Regions from separate parts of the Homo sapiens genome. Here region 1 is linked to region 2. The links are contacts of gene promoters, found by promoter capture Hi-C in human tissues and cell types (Jung and others, 2019). All regions are on one chromosome and are shown on one strand. The core of a region is centred on a gene start or on the middle of the fragment in contact, and the rest is flanking DNA. Distances in the headings are between cores, read along the strand shown. Region 1 holds the start of EIF4A3 (eukaryotic translation initiation factor 4A3). Region 2 holds the start of USP36 (ubiquitin specific peptidase 36).

Evidence for each region. Contacts are between HindIII fragments. The study calls those that stand out against the background at their distance.
Region 1: a contact is called between the fragment with the promoter of EIF4A3 here and the fragment with the promoter of USP36 in region 2, in 1 of the 25 tissues and cell types used here (lymphoblastoid cells).

Annotation. Positions count from the first base shown.
Region 1 is chr17:80,143,634-80,149,307 of GRCh38, reverse strand. It overlaps EIF4A3 (eukaryotic translation initiation factor 4A3), which reads left to right and starts at 2,180. Exons shown (of 12, transcript NM_014740.4): 1 at 2,180-2,515; 2 at 5,064-5,136. The coding sequence starts at 2,347. RefSeq lists enhancers at 99-811, 812-1,525, 1,526-2,238, 2,239-2,953 and silencers at 1,522-1,711, 2,552-2,601. The HindIII fragment of the contact is 11,065 bases long and covers 1-5,674 here.
Region 2 is chr17:78,839,100-78,844,618 of GRCh38, reverse strand. USP36 (ubiquitin specific peptidase 36) reads left to right here and starts at 3,805. Exons shown (of 21, transcript NM_001385174.1): 1 at 3,805-3,883. It overlaps LOC124904067 (a long non-coding RNA gene), which reads right to left and starts at 3,505. Exons shown (of 2, transcript XR_007065923.1): 1 at 1-3,505. RefSeq lists silencers at 3,318-3,417, 3,878-4,397 and enhancers at 3,538-3,727, 5,322-5,519. The HindIII fragment of the contact is 7,372 bases long and covers 1-5,519 here.

The sequences.
Region 1 (5,674 bases), core at 931-3,430, 1.3 Mb before region 2:
CCACCAGGCCTGGCCAGGATGCTCTGGTTTTAACTAAAATTAACCTTCATAAAAGGAGAGCTTTTCAAGCACTCCTAGAAAGAAGCTGTGGATTAAAGATGTGCCCAGCGATGCAAGCCAGATTTGTGACCATAAGAAAGGACAGGACCGGGCTCATGCCTGTAATCCCAGCATTTTAGGAGGCTGAAGCGGGCAGATCATGAGGTCAGGAGTTCAAGACCAGCCTGACCAACACGGGGAAACCCCATCTCTACTAAAAATACAAAAATTAGCCGGGCGTGGTGGTGCATGCCTGTAATCCTAGCTACTCAGGAGGGTGAGGAAGGGGAGTCGCTTGAACCGGGAGGCAGAGGTTGCAGTGAGCCAAGATTGCGCCACTGCACTCCAGCCTGGGGAACAGAGCGAGACTCTGTCACACACACACACACACACACACACACACACACACAAAATAGCGGGGCGCGGTGGCTCACGCCTGTAATCCTAGCACTTTGGGAAGCCGAGGTGGGCGGATCATGAGGTCAAGAGATCAAGACCATCCTGGCCAACATGGTGAAACCCGGTCTATACTAAAAATACAGAAAATTAGCTGGGCGTGGTGGCGCGTGTCTGTAGTCCCAGCTATTTGGGAGGCTGAGGCAGGAGAATGGCGTGAACCTGGGCGACAGAACTTGCAGTGAGCTGAGATCGCGACACTGCACTCCAGCCTGGGCGAACCGAGCAAGACTCCGTCAAAAAAAAAAAAAAAAAAAAAAAAAAAAAAGGACAGAGCTGGCGCTCGTGGAAATACAATTTTCCCAAAGTTAAAAACATGATTCTCAACAGCATGAACTGCCCTTCAAAGATGATGGAGCTGCTTCAAAAGGCGTTAGAGGAGCTGGGTACGAAGAAGCACTTAAAGTGTCAGATAAGAAAGCGGTTAGTGGCTGCGCGTGGACACCTGTGGTCCCAGGTGCTCTGGAGGCTGAGGCGGGAGGATCGCCTGTGCTCGGGAGGTGGAGGCTGCAGTGAACCGAGATCGCGCCATGGCACTCCAGCCTGGGCGACAGGGCCAGACTGTCTCAAAACAAACAAACGAACAAACAAAAAGCAGGTTAAGATGCACAACTGGTTAAAGTTCTGCTGGGCAATTAAAAAATGATCCCGTCTGGGTTATCTTTGCTGCAGGACACGCATTAGCAGCACCGTCTACTGACAAGTGGCCTTCATTAAGAGCAAATTGCAGGCTCAGCATGTATTTTATTTATAACAGCTGCTTGCCGGGCACAGTGGCTCATGCCTGTAATCCCAGCACTTTGGGAGGCCAAGGCAGGCGGATCACCTGAGGCCCCGCAGTTCAAGACCAGCCAGGACAACCCTAACCCCCGCCTCCCCCAACCCCGTCTCTACAAAAAAATTTAAAAAATTAGCCGGGCGTGGTGGCGCGCGCCTGAGGTCCCAGCTACTCCAGAGGCTGAGGCGGAGGCTACAATGAACCCTGATCCTACCACTGCACTCCAGCCTGGGCGACGGAGCGAGACCCTGTCTCCAACTCACCAGGCAAACGGTGAAGACACACCCAGGCGCGTCCCCTAAGAGGGACGCCGGCTTCAGGGGCCCTGGCCCTCCCCAGCGCAGACCCGCCGGAGCCCAGCGCCGCGCCGGGGCCCACCACCGGCGGCCGTGAGGGTTTCCACTCGAATCTCCCCGGCGAGCTGGGCGCCTCCACTACGGGTCTGCGACGCAGTCCACCCACTGCGGGCCCGAGAGAGGACCCGTGCTCGTCATTTTTATTCGAGGCGGGGCTATCTGGGGACCCCGCCCGGAGCGGAGGCCCCTCGCGGCCCCAGCCTGTTTCCAGGGAATTCAGGTCCACACGCCGCTCAAAGAACCTCAGCGCCCCAGTCCGCGAAATCCCGCGGCCGGTACGAAACACCGCCAACTTTAGAAGTACCACCCCCTCCATCCCTTTCGTAAGGAACTGGGTGCCCCGCCCTCAACGAGATCCCGCGGGAACTGCATATGGCGCGAGAGCAGAAACACCTTACTTTTCCCTGCGGCAAACGCCCAGTTCCCTTTCACGTGACGAAGAGTGCCCCGTCCCCCAGAGGCGTGGCCGCGTCGCGCGTACGCACGTACGCACGTACGCACGCACGTCTCTCGCTTTCGCATACTTAAGGCGTCTGTTCTCGGCAGCGGCACAGCGAGGTCGGCAGCGGCACAGCGAGGTCGGCAGCGGCACAGCGAGGTCGGCAGCGGCACAGCGAGGTCGGCAGCGGCAGCGAGGTCGGCAGCGGCACAGCGAGGTCGGCAGCGGCAGCGAGGTCGGCAGCGGCGCGCGCTGTGCTCTTCCGCGGACTCTGAATCATGGCGACCACGGCCACGATGGCGACCTCGGGCTCGGCGCGAAAGCGGCTGCTCAAAGAGGAAGACATGACTAAAGTGGAATTCGAGACCAGCGAGGAGGTGGATGTGACCCCCACGTTCGACACCATGGGCCTGCGGGAGGACCTGCTGCGGGGCATCTACGCTTACGGTGAGCGGGCGCGGGCCGCGGGGGCCAGCCGGGGGCGAGTCGGGGGCGAGCCGGGGGCTGAGGGCCAGACTGGTGACTCCCGGGCCGGCCCTGCGCTCCGGAGGTCGTGGTCAGGGTCGAGGCTCGGGGGCCAGTGACGTCCGACCCCCACCCCCACCCCCGTCCTCGCCCTCACGCCTGGCTGTGTCGGCGCTTTCGGTGTGTGTCCCCCGTGCAGAGCTCGGCGCTGGGTCTGTCGGGGGCTGCAGCCGCTTCGAGGCACCTCAGCGTCCTTCATTCAGCAGATAACTGATTTCTACCTATTAGCTTTTCTAGGTACTGGGGTTTTGGCGGTAAACCGGAAGGGTTTGCGCCTTTACGGGTTTTGAATTTCGTTTGGGGGGAAAGCATACTGTCAGGTTGCCCAGGCAACCTGAAGAACCTGAAGCGGGGTAATTGAATAGAGTGGGACTGGGAAGGAGGAGAGAATTAGTAAAGCAGAGAGGTAAGGGGGTTCGCAGGAGGGGGTGCCATTTGAGCAGAGTTCTGGATGAAGGAGACTGTTATGAGAAGAGGGAAGAGCAGTTGGGGCAGAAGGAACAGCTGGTGCCAGGGCCTTGCAGCCCTTAGCCAGCTGCATTCCAGGAACTGAAAGAAGTCCCCTGTGGTGGGATTTTGGAGAGCTAGTCGGGGCAGATCTAGCAAAGACGTGTAGGGTGACGAATAATTTGAATTTCATTTAGAAATCTAGTGGGAAGCCAGTGGAAGGTTTTAAGTAGCTATGTGACACGATCACATTTACAGTTTTAAAGATTCTTCTGGGTGTCTGTAGATTTGAGGTGAGGCGAGGCAAGGCAGGAGAGGAAACAAGAGAGTTGGGAGCTTTTGCTGCAGTTCAGGGAAGAGAGGATTGTGCTGCCTTGGAGATGGAGTACCAGGGAGCTGACAGCATTGGCTGATGGATTGAACGTGAGTGACAGAAGGAGGAGAGTTGGAGTGTTTTGAGTAACCGGTGGTTGATGCTGCAAACATTTGGCTAGGTAGGCAGCACTCCAGAGAGTCAGAATCAGGAGCTGTCTCTTGGTATGTTTGAAAGATGTGAGGAAGTTGAGGGAGAGCCTGGAGAAGAGGTTGGGTTGGGCACATAGATGGGAATGACCAGCATCTGGGATAAATGGCCTGTGTTTAATGCTTGGGACAGGGACATTTTTTATCCTGTAGTTCTCTTCCTTTTCTTTCTTCCTTTTCCTTCTGACAGTCCTGCTCTTGTCACCAAGGCTGGAGTGTAGTGGCATGATCTCAGCTTATTGCAACTTCCACTTCTGGGGCTCAAGCGATTCCTTTGCCTCAGCCTCCCGAGTAGCTGGGATTATAGGTGTGGGCCACCACGTCCTACTAATTTTTGTATTTTTAGTAGGGAGGGGATTTTGCCATGTTGCCCAGGCTGGTCTTGAACTCCTGACCTCAGTGATCCACCAGCCTCAGCCTCCCAAAGTGATGGCATTACAGGTGTGAGCCACCCCACCTGGCCGTATCCTGTAGTTCTTGATGCCACAACAGTTTGGACAAAGTGAAGCGAAGTTGCTGAGGATGCGTGGTGAAAAAGCATCTCAGGCAGCCTCACAGTGAGGCTGACAGCCCCACCTGGTTTCCTGGCACTCAGGCAGTCCCTGCCCTAAGACACTGTTGTTAGTTTCCCATCTATGTGCTTGCTCTTCATGAAGAGTTTAAATCATCTGCTATATTTGCATTTGTGTTAAGATGGGAAATTGTGCTACATTTTCTTTTGTTTCTTATTTTTCGCTATGCCCCAGAACTGAGCAGAGCTACATTTAAGAGACTACCAAAAAATAATTGAAATAGAGTTTTTGTACATAAAATTTTATTTACTTGAAAAACACGTGGTTCTTCTTCAAAATAGCCTCACCCTTTGGTGTAGTAGTTGCTTTGCAAGAGAGATGGTGTGATGGTGTTGTAGTTAGTGAGCTGCATCCAGACAGAACAACATAGGACACCCTGCAGCGTGACCCACGCAGGTTAAACAGAGTTGTAGACCTGTCAGCAACACACAGACTTAATGCTAGCTAGTAGGAGAGAACAATGGCTAGAGTGACTTTCCTGTTTTTTTGTTGTTTTTTTTTTTAATTTAAAAAGTAGTATAGGTTGTTTGTAATCCAGTCAAACCTAAGGGAGTAATTAGAGTAAAAAGTAAGTTTCTTTCCACCCCTCTACTGCAGTAACTGCCAGGAACATTTTGGCACTTACACTTCCAGATGCTGCACACCCAGATTTTTTTTTTTTTTTAAACAAAACTGTTGTCTATATTCTACAATTTGGTGGTTTTTTAAAAATAGAGATTGGTCTTTACAAATAATATCCCACGTTAGTGTAGAAATCACTCAGCCCAATTCATTGAGCCCCTGGGTTTTGAGAGCTTGCTATGTTGAACACTGGGTTAGGCTGGAGGACAGGTTCAAAAAACAAACCATGTCTGCCCCTGAGGAGCTCACAGTACAGGGTTTCTATGCTGTCATTGTGGTGAGGGCTAATTTTTTGTTTTTATTTGCAGGTTTTGAAAAACCATCAGCAATCCAGCAACGAGCAATCAAGCAGATCATCAAAGGGAGAGATGTCATCGCACAGTAAGTTGTCCTGGGGTGCGGCGCAGGGCTGGATGTAAATTTGGGCAGCGCAGTGCAGTTAGATGCTCTGGGATGACTGTTTCCCTCAGCTTGTACACGCTCAGTTCCAACACTTTCCCTGACTTTAGCCACAGGGTTTAATACTTTTTTAAATTTGTGTTCTCTACTGTGGAAAGCTTTCATTTTCTTTTTGAGATGGAGTCTCGCTCTGTTGCCCAGGCTGGAGTGCAGTGGTGCCATCTCGGCTCACTGCAACCTTTGCCTCTCAGTTTCAAGCTATTCTCCTGCCTCACCCTCCCAAGTAGCTGGGATTACAGGCATGCACCACCATGCCCGACTAATTTTCATATTTTTAGTAGAGACGGGGGTTTCACCATGTTGGTCAGGCTGGTCTCAAACTCCTGACCTCAGGTGATCCACCCTCCTTGGCCTCCTAAAGTGCTGGGATTTCAGGCATGAGTTACTGCGCCCGGCCAAGGCTTTCATTTTCTTAGCCAGCTTTGCTTAGTGGTTTGCTGGCATGTGGAATTGTATATAA
Region 2 (5,519 bases), core at 2,556-5,055:
ATGGCTGGCACCAAGGGGGCTGGGACTGCAGGAGGCTGTGTGGGGCGGGGACTTGGAGGGAAGTGACAGAGCAAGGGAAAGGGCTGGCGAGTGTGAGCGTGAGAGTCGGTGGATTTTGAAAGTGTGTGAGTGTGGTGGGGTGTGTGAGTGTGTGTGAGGATGTGAGTAAGAGAGAATGTATGTGTGTGTGTGTTGGGGGAATCCCTGGGACCGAACTTATTGTAGAAAGGGTGGCATCCTGCCCAGCTGCATTTAGGGGAAGGACCTCTGCCAGCCTAGGGCACATCTGGCTGAGGTGACCCTTGAGCTTGAGAGCAGTACCAGGGGAGCGATGCAGGGAATCCGCAGACTAGAAGACCAGGGTGCACCTCCCCAAACAGCCGGCTGCCTGGAGTGGCTCTTCGGAGCCTGGGTAAACCCCTGGAGATCTGTCCTATTCAAAGGAGGCAGAGAGCCCCCAAAATGATTGAGGTGGGGAATTCCAACCACCGATGGGGTAGAGGTATTAAACTAATTTAGTTTACCAAAATGAAACAAGAGAAAAGGCCGGGAGGTGGGGTGCGGTGGCTCACGCCTGTAATCCTTGCACTCTGGGAGGCTGAGGGGGGCAGATCACCTGAGGCCAAGAGTTCAAGACCAAACATGGCGAAACCCCATCTCTACTAAAAATACAAAAATCAGCTGGGTGTGGTGGCGTGCACCTGTGATCCCAGCTACTCTGGAGGCCGAGACACGATAATCGCTTGAACCCGGGAGGCGGAGCTTGCAGTGAGCTGAGATTGCACCACTGCACTCCAGCCTGGGCGACAGAGTGAGACTCCACCTCAGAAAAATAAAAAACAAGAGAAAACTACAAAATACGTATCCTGACTTGTGCCAAAGCATCTCGGAGCAGCTGCTGCTCTTGCTAGTGCCCTCTGTGGTCCCAACTCCTGGCCGCCACCTGCCCGGGCCTGGGCTGCCGCCTTGCACAGCCATTCTCCTGGCACGGTCAGATGTCTGAGAGTCAACACCATTTAGGAAGGATGACTTTCTCCACCCCTTCTGAGACTAGAAACAAAATGGAAGGGTCATAAGAATGGTGCCAAGCAGCCAAAAGAGCCACTTCCTTTGGGTACCAACAGGTGGCGTGGCGTCATGGCTCCTGTCTTCCCCAAGTGCCTGTGCCCAGCAGCTGCCTCTGCCTGTGCATCTTCTAGGGCGATGCTAATGGCAGATTTCCTGAGAGCCCTGTCCCATCTGCATGGATGGGAAGGACGACATACATTGCTGTTCTTCCTAAGGAAAGTGGCATCCCTCCCAAACCTGGGAACTCGGGTCTCCATGGACCGCACAGACACCTGAGAAAAGGTTTTGCATCAGAGGCTGATGGCAGAGGCTCTACCAGTCCAGCAAGTCACCTGACTGATGTGAAGGGTTCCCCTAGAGCAGGAGGGACATCTGGGCTGAAAACCCTCATGTGAAAAGGCCTGGGCCCCCCAGGCACTCGGCACCTATGAAATGCAACCCCAGCGGGTGGAAAAGCAAGTCCACGATTGCACTCCCCTGCCAGGCTAGGGAGAAATTCTGCTATTGCAGTTCAGGGGCAACACACCCACCCCCGCAGACCTGAGGGTGGCTGCAACTGTCAGCCACACCCAAAGAATGCAGGGCAGGCTCACTGTGGATAAATGTTTATGAAAGAACCACATGGAAATTGAAATATTTGAGATGAGACTGAATGATCTCTAAATCCTAAAAGAGAAAACTAGAGAAACATTAAAGATGAAAGAATAAAATATTCTGTTATAGAAAGCTGTAACCAAAACGGATCACATTAGAACTTACCTCAAGAAAAAGGTGCATTAACAGAATAGTTGTATTGTCACCCAAAAATTACCTGGTCCGCTCCCTGCCTGGGAGGTCAAGGTAAGATGGACTCAATTCCTCTCCTGGTTTCACAGCCTGTAGAAGATGGCTGAAGATTTGGGCTAATTTCGTGAGAGACCTACGTTGCATTTCTTTCTTTTTTTTTTTTTTAGACCAAGTATTGCTCTGTTGTCCAGGCTGCTGGAGTGCAATGGCACGATCTCAGCTCATTGCAACCTCCACCTCCCAGGTACAAGCGATTCTCCTGTCTCAGCCTCCCTAGTAGCTCGGATTACAGGCGTGCGCCACCATACCCAGCTAATTTTTGTATTTTTAGTAGAGACAGGTTTTCACCATGTTGGCCAGGCTGGTCTGGAATTCCTGACCTCAAGCGATCTGCCTGCCTCGGCCTCCCAAAGTGCTAGGATTACAGGCGTGAGCCACTGTGCCCTGCCTTTTTTTCTTTTCTTTTCTTTTCTTTTGAGACGGAGTCTCGCTCTGTCGCCCAGGCTGGAGTGCAGTGGCGACATCTCAGCTCGCTGCAACCTCCGCCTCCTAGGTTCAAGGGATTCTCGTGCCTCAGCCTCCTGAGTAGCTGGGATTACAGGCGCCCACCACCACACCCAGCTAATTTTTGTATGTTTAGTAGAGACGGGGTTTCACCATGTTGGCCATGCTGGTCTCGAACTCCTGACCTCAGGTGATCCGCCCACCTTGGCCTCCAAGTGTTGGGATTACAAGGGTGAGCCACCGCGCCCAGCCCAAGGATTCTTACAGATAGGGCATAGTCTCAGCATCAGACTAATATGGTTATCTTGTTTGCTTTTTTCAAAAAACACCAGCGCCCAGGTAATAAATACAAGGTGAATTTTGTTCCAAGTACATCTAGCCTCTCTCCCCATCTCCAGTCCCTGCTTTAGGATCCGTGGGGAGGGCATGGAAATTCGTTTTGGGTTGTTTACCTGTGACTTCACCCTACTCATCATTCCTACTTACATCAAAAAAGACACAGCAGATACGACTGTGTTTGCAAAGTTCTGCCTTTTGGATAAAGTAGTTTATGCCCATCCTGTGCTTCTCTGAGTTTCTGAGGTCAGGCCAGGAACCAACACTCTCAACCTGCCCAAGGGAATGGGGAGGAAGCCAGCGAAGTTGCCTCAGATCAAGAGGATTTTTAAAAATACTGCAAAAGAAATACGTGCTCACAAATACTCAGCTAAAACCTTCGCAGAGCTGTCAGAGGACAAAGCTTTTGGAGGGAGTGGGTGGAGCTAGAGATTGCACAGCCGCCACCAGCCTACAAAGGTCAAATCTCACACTCTCAGATCCCTAATTCCGAAGAGCCATTTCCTCGGCAGCCCCAGGCTTTGGCCGATCGCTCCCAGATCCCTCCCTCCCCAAACTGCAGGTGCTCCGCGTGTGGGAGTCACGGATGGCCCCAGAGCCCGGGACGTTAAGGCCGAGCGCCCGCGCCTCCGCTTCTCCACAGCCACCTGACGGCCAGGGGCAGGTGGGGGAGCCCAGCCTTCTCCCTGCCCGGGAGACAGCGCGGGAGGGCTGTTGCAGGGGTGGGCAAAGTCCCTCGAGTCCCCGTTCTGGGGCGGGGGCGCGCGCCACTGTCACACTTCAGGCGTCCGCCACGCCGCCAGGTGTGCTCGGCCGACCCGGAAGTAGCGGCACCTCTAGTGCGCTGCGGAGACGTCACCCTGCCGCGGCACAGGGGCGGGAGCGCCTGTGGCTCTGCGCACTTGCGTCATCACGTAGGCTGGCGGGGTCCCGTGATGGGGAGGTGACGTAGGCGACACGGAAGCGGCGGTGGGCGGGGACAGGGAGTTAGCGGAATCTAGCCCCGCCTCTTAAAGCCTCCCAACCCTTTCGGAGTTAGCGCAGCGCGAACGCTGGGTGCGGCGCCTTTAAGCGTCGCGGTGACACGTGTGTGAGGCGCCGGAGGCCCGGATGGTGCGCGTGCTGGGCCGCGGGCCGAAGGAGTCGCCAGGGCTGCGTAGGCTTGTGGCGCGCCCGCGGAGAGGCCGGGGTAGGCTGGGGTCGGGTCGGGGCGGTGCGCAGGCCTGGGGACGAGACCGGGGCGGGGGGTTCCGCGAGGCCTGGGGCGCGGGAAGGGCTGGCGGGCGCAGCCGGGACGCTCAGGGAGAACGTGGGCGCGGGTCCGCGCAGGGCTTCGGCCGTCCCCGAGGAGGACCCGGGATGCTCCGCCCGCTCGCGAGCTCGCTTCTCCAGAGCCCGGGTATTCCCGAGGAGGGTCCGGGGCCGGGCTGTCCTCGCCGGTCTCCGCCGTCCCCCGGGCTCCGGGCCGGTGATGGGGGTCGCCGGGGCCCGCTGTCTGTGCAGGATTCAGGTCAACTTCGGAGAGGTTGAAGTCGGAATCAGGGCGAGGGCGTCGCGTGCGGCCGCAGAGCTCAGCGGGGCGGGTGCGGCCCCGGGGCGGGCACCTTCCTCGTGGTTGCGGAGGAGGCCATGGAGCCCGGGGCGGGGTGCGGTTCCGATGCTGCTGCTTCTGGCGGGTGGCGTGGGGGTCCTGGGCCTGGGGCTGGAGTGGCGGCCGCCAAACCCAGACACACGAGAGGGGAGACTCCGCGCGCCCCCGTTTACGTAACGCTCGCCACGGAGCCATGCTCGGGGAGAGGTGCTCGGGTCGCTGTGTCCGCGGCCGGGCTCGGGGCAGGCGCTGCGGAGTCGCCCGGGAGGCCCCTGGAGCGCGGCGCTGGGCCCCGGGAGGCCGCTGCTTCCGTGGGCTCCTCTCCCCAGCACGTGGTTGACCCTGCGAGCGTCCGTTGCAGTTCATCCTGGAAAAGTGACTTTAGAAGGAGGAGGGAGCGGGAATGAGCCTAAATGGTGCTGGCTGGGGTTCGCGCAGGTGGAAATGTGGATGAGGCCTGTGCTGTCCTTGGACAAGAGAGAGCATCCTTCCTGAGTTGGGTAGAGTGTGGATGGTGTGTGCGTCGGAGGGATTGCTAGTGATTACAGGAACACTTGTCTCGGGCTCCTACACGTCAGAGAGCGAGCGAGCGTTGTTTAGGTTATTGCTTAATGTTTTAGGTGGAATTGGTGAAGTAGAGATTGACCTGTCCCACTTGAAAAATTGTGTTCAAAATCTCTGCATCTACATTAAGGAGTGGGTTAAGTTCAAAGTTACTTATCTCGAGTGAAACTGGGTTACATCTCCCAAGGTTCGTTTATCCCCTCCCTAAGTGGTTCTCAAGCGTTGGTTGTGCATGACAGAGTTCTCACCTTCCAGGGTAGATGTGAGTCCTAACCGAAAGCAGTGATATTGTGGGGAGTTTTTAATACGACTGGATGTCTTCACTTTGTAGATGGCTTTTATTCTGAGATCATTTCCTTACACATTTTTCGGGAGTTGGTATGCTTTTATTTATGGATGAAGTCATAGGTCTGAGATTTGCTGTAGAATTACCTGGGGATGGGAAGTGACTCAGGATGGGTCAGATGTAGTTACTGAGGCTGAATAAGGGGGGCTCATGTGCTCCCTGTGCGGTTCTCCATCTGTGTGTTTGAATGTTTTCACTGTAAACTGTTTTTACGAACCTTAATTTTATGTAATCATAGTGATCGTAGATGGTAATGAAAGAGAAAATCCACACTTAGCAAAGCAAAATTTTGGCAACTCCTATTACTCCCTGAGGTTTGTTGTT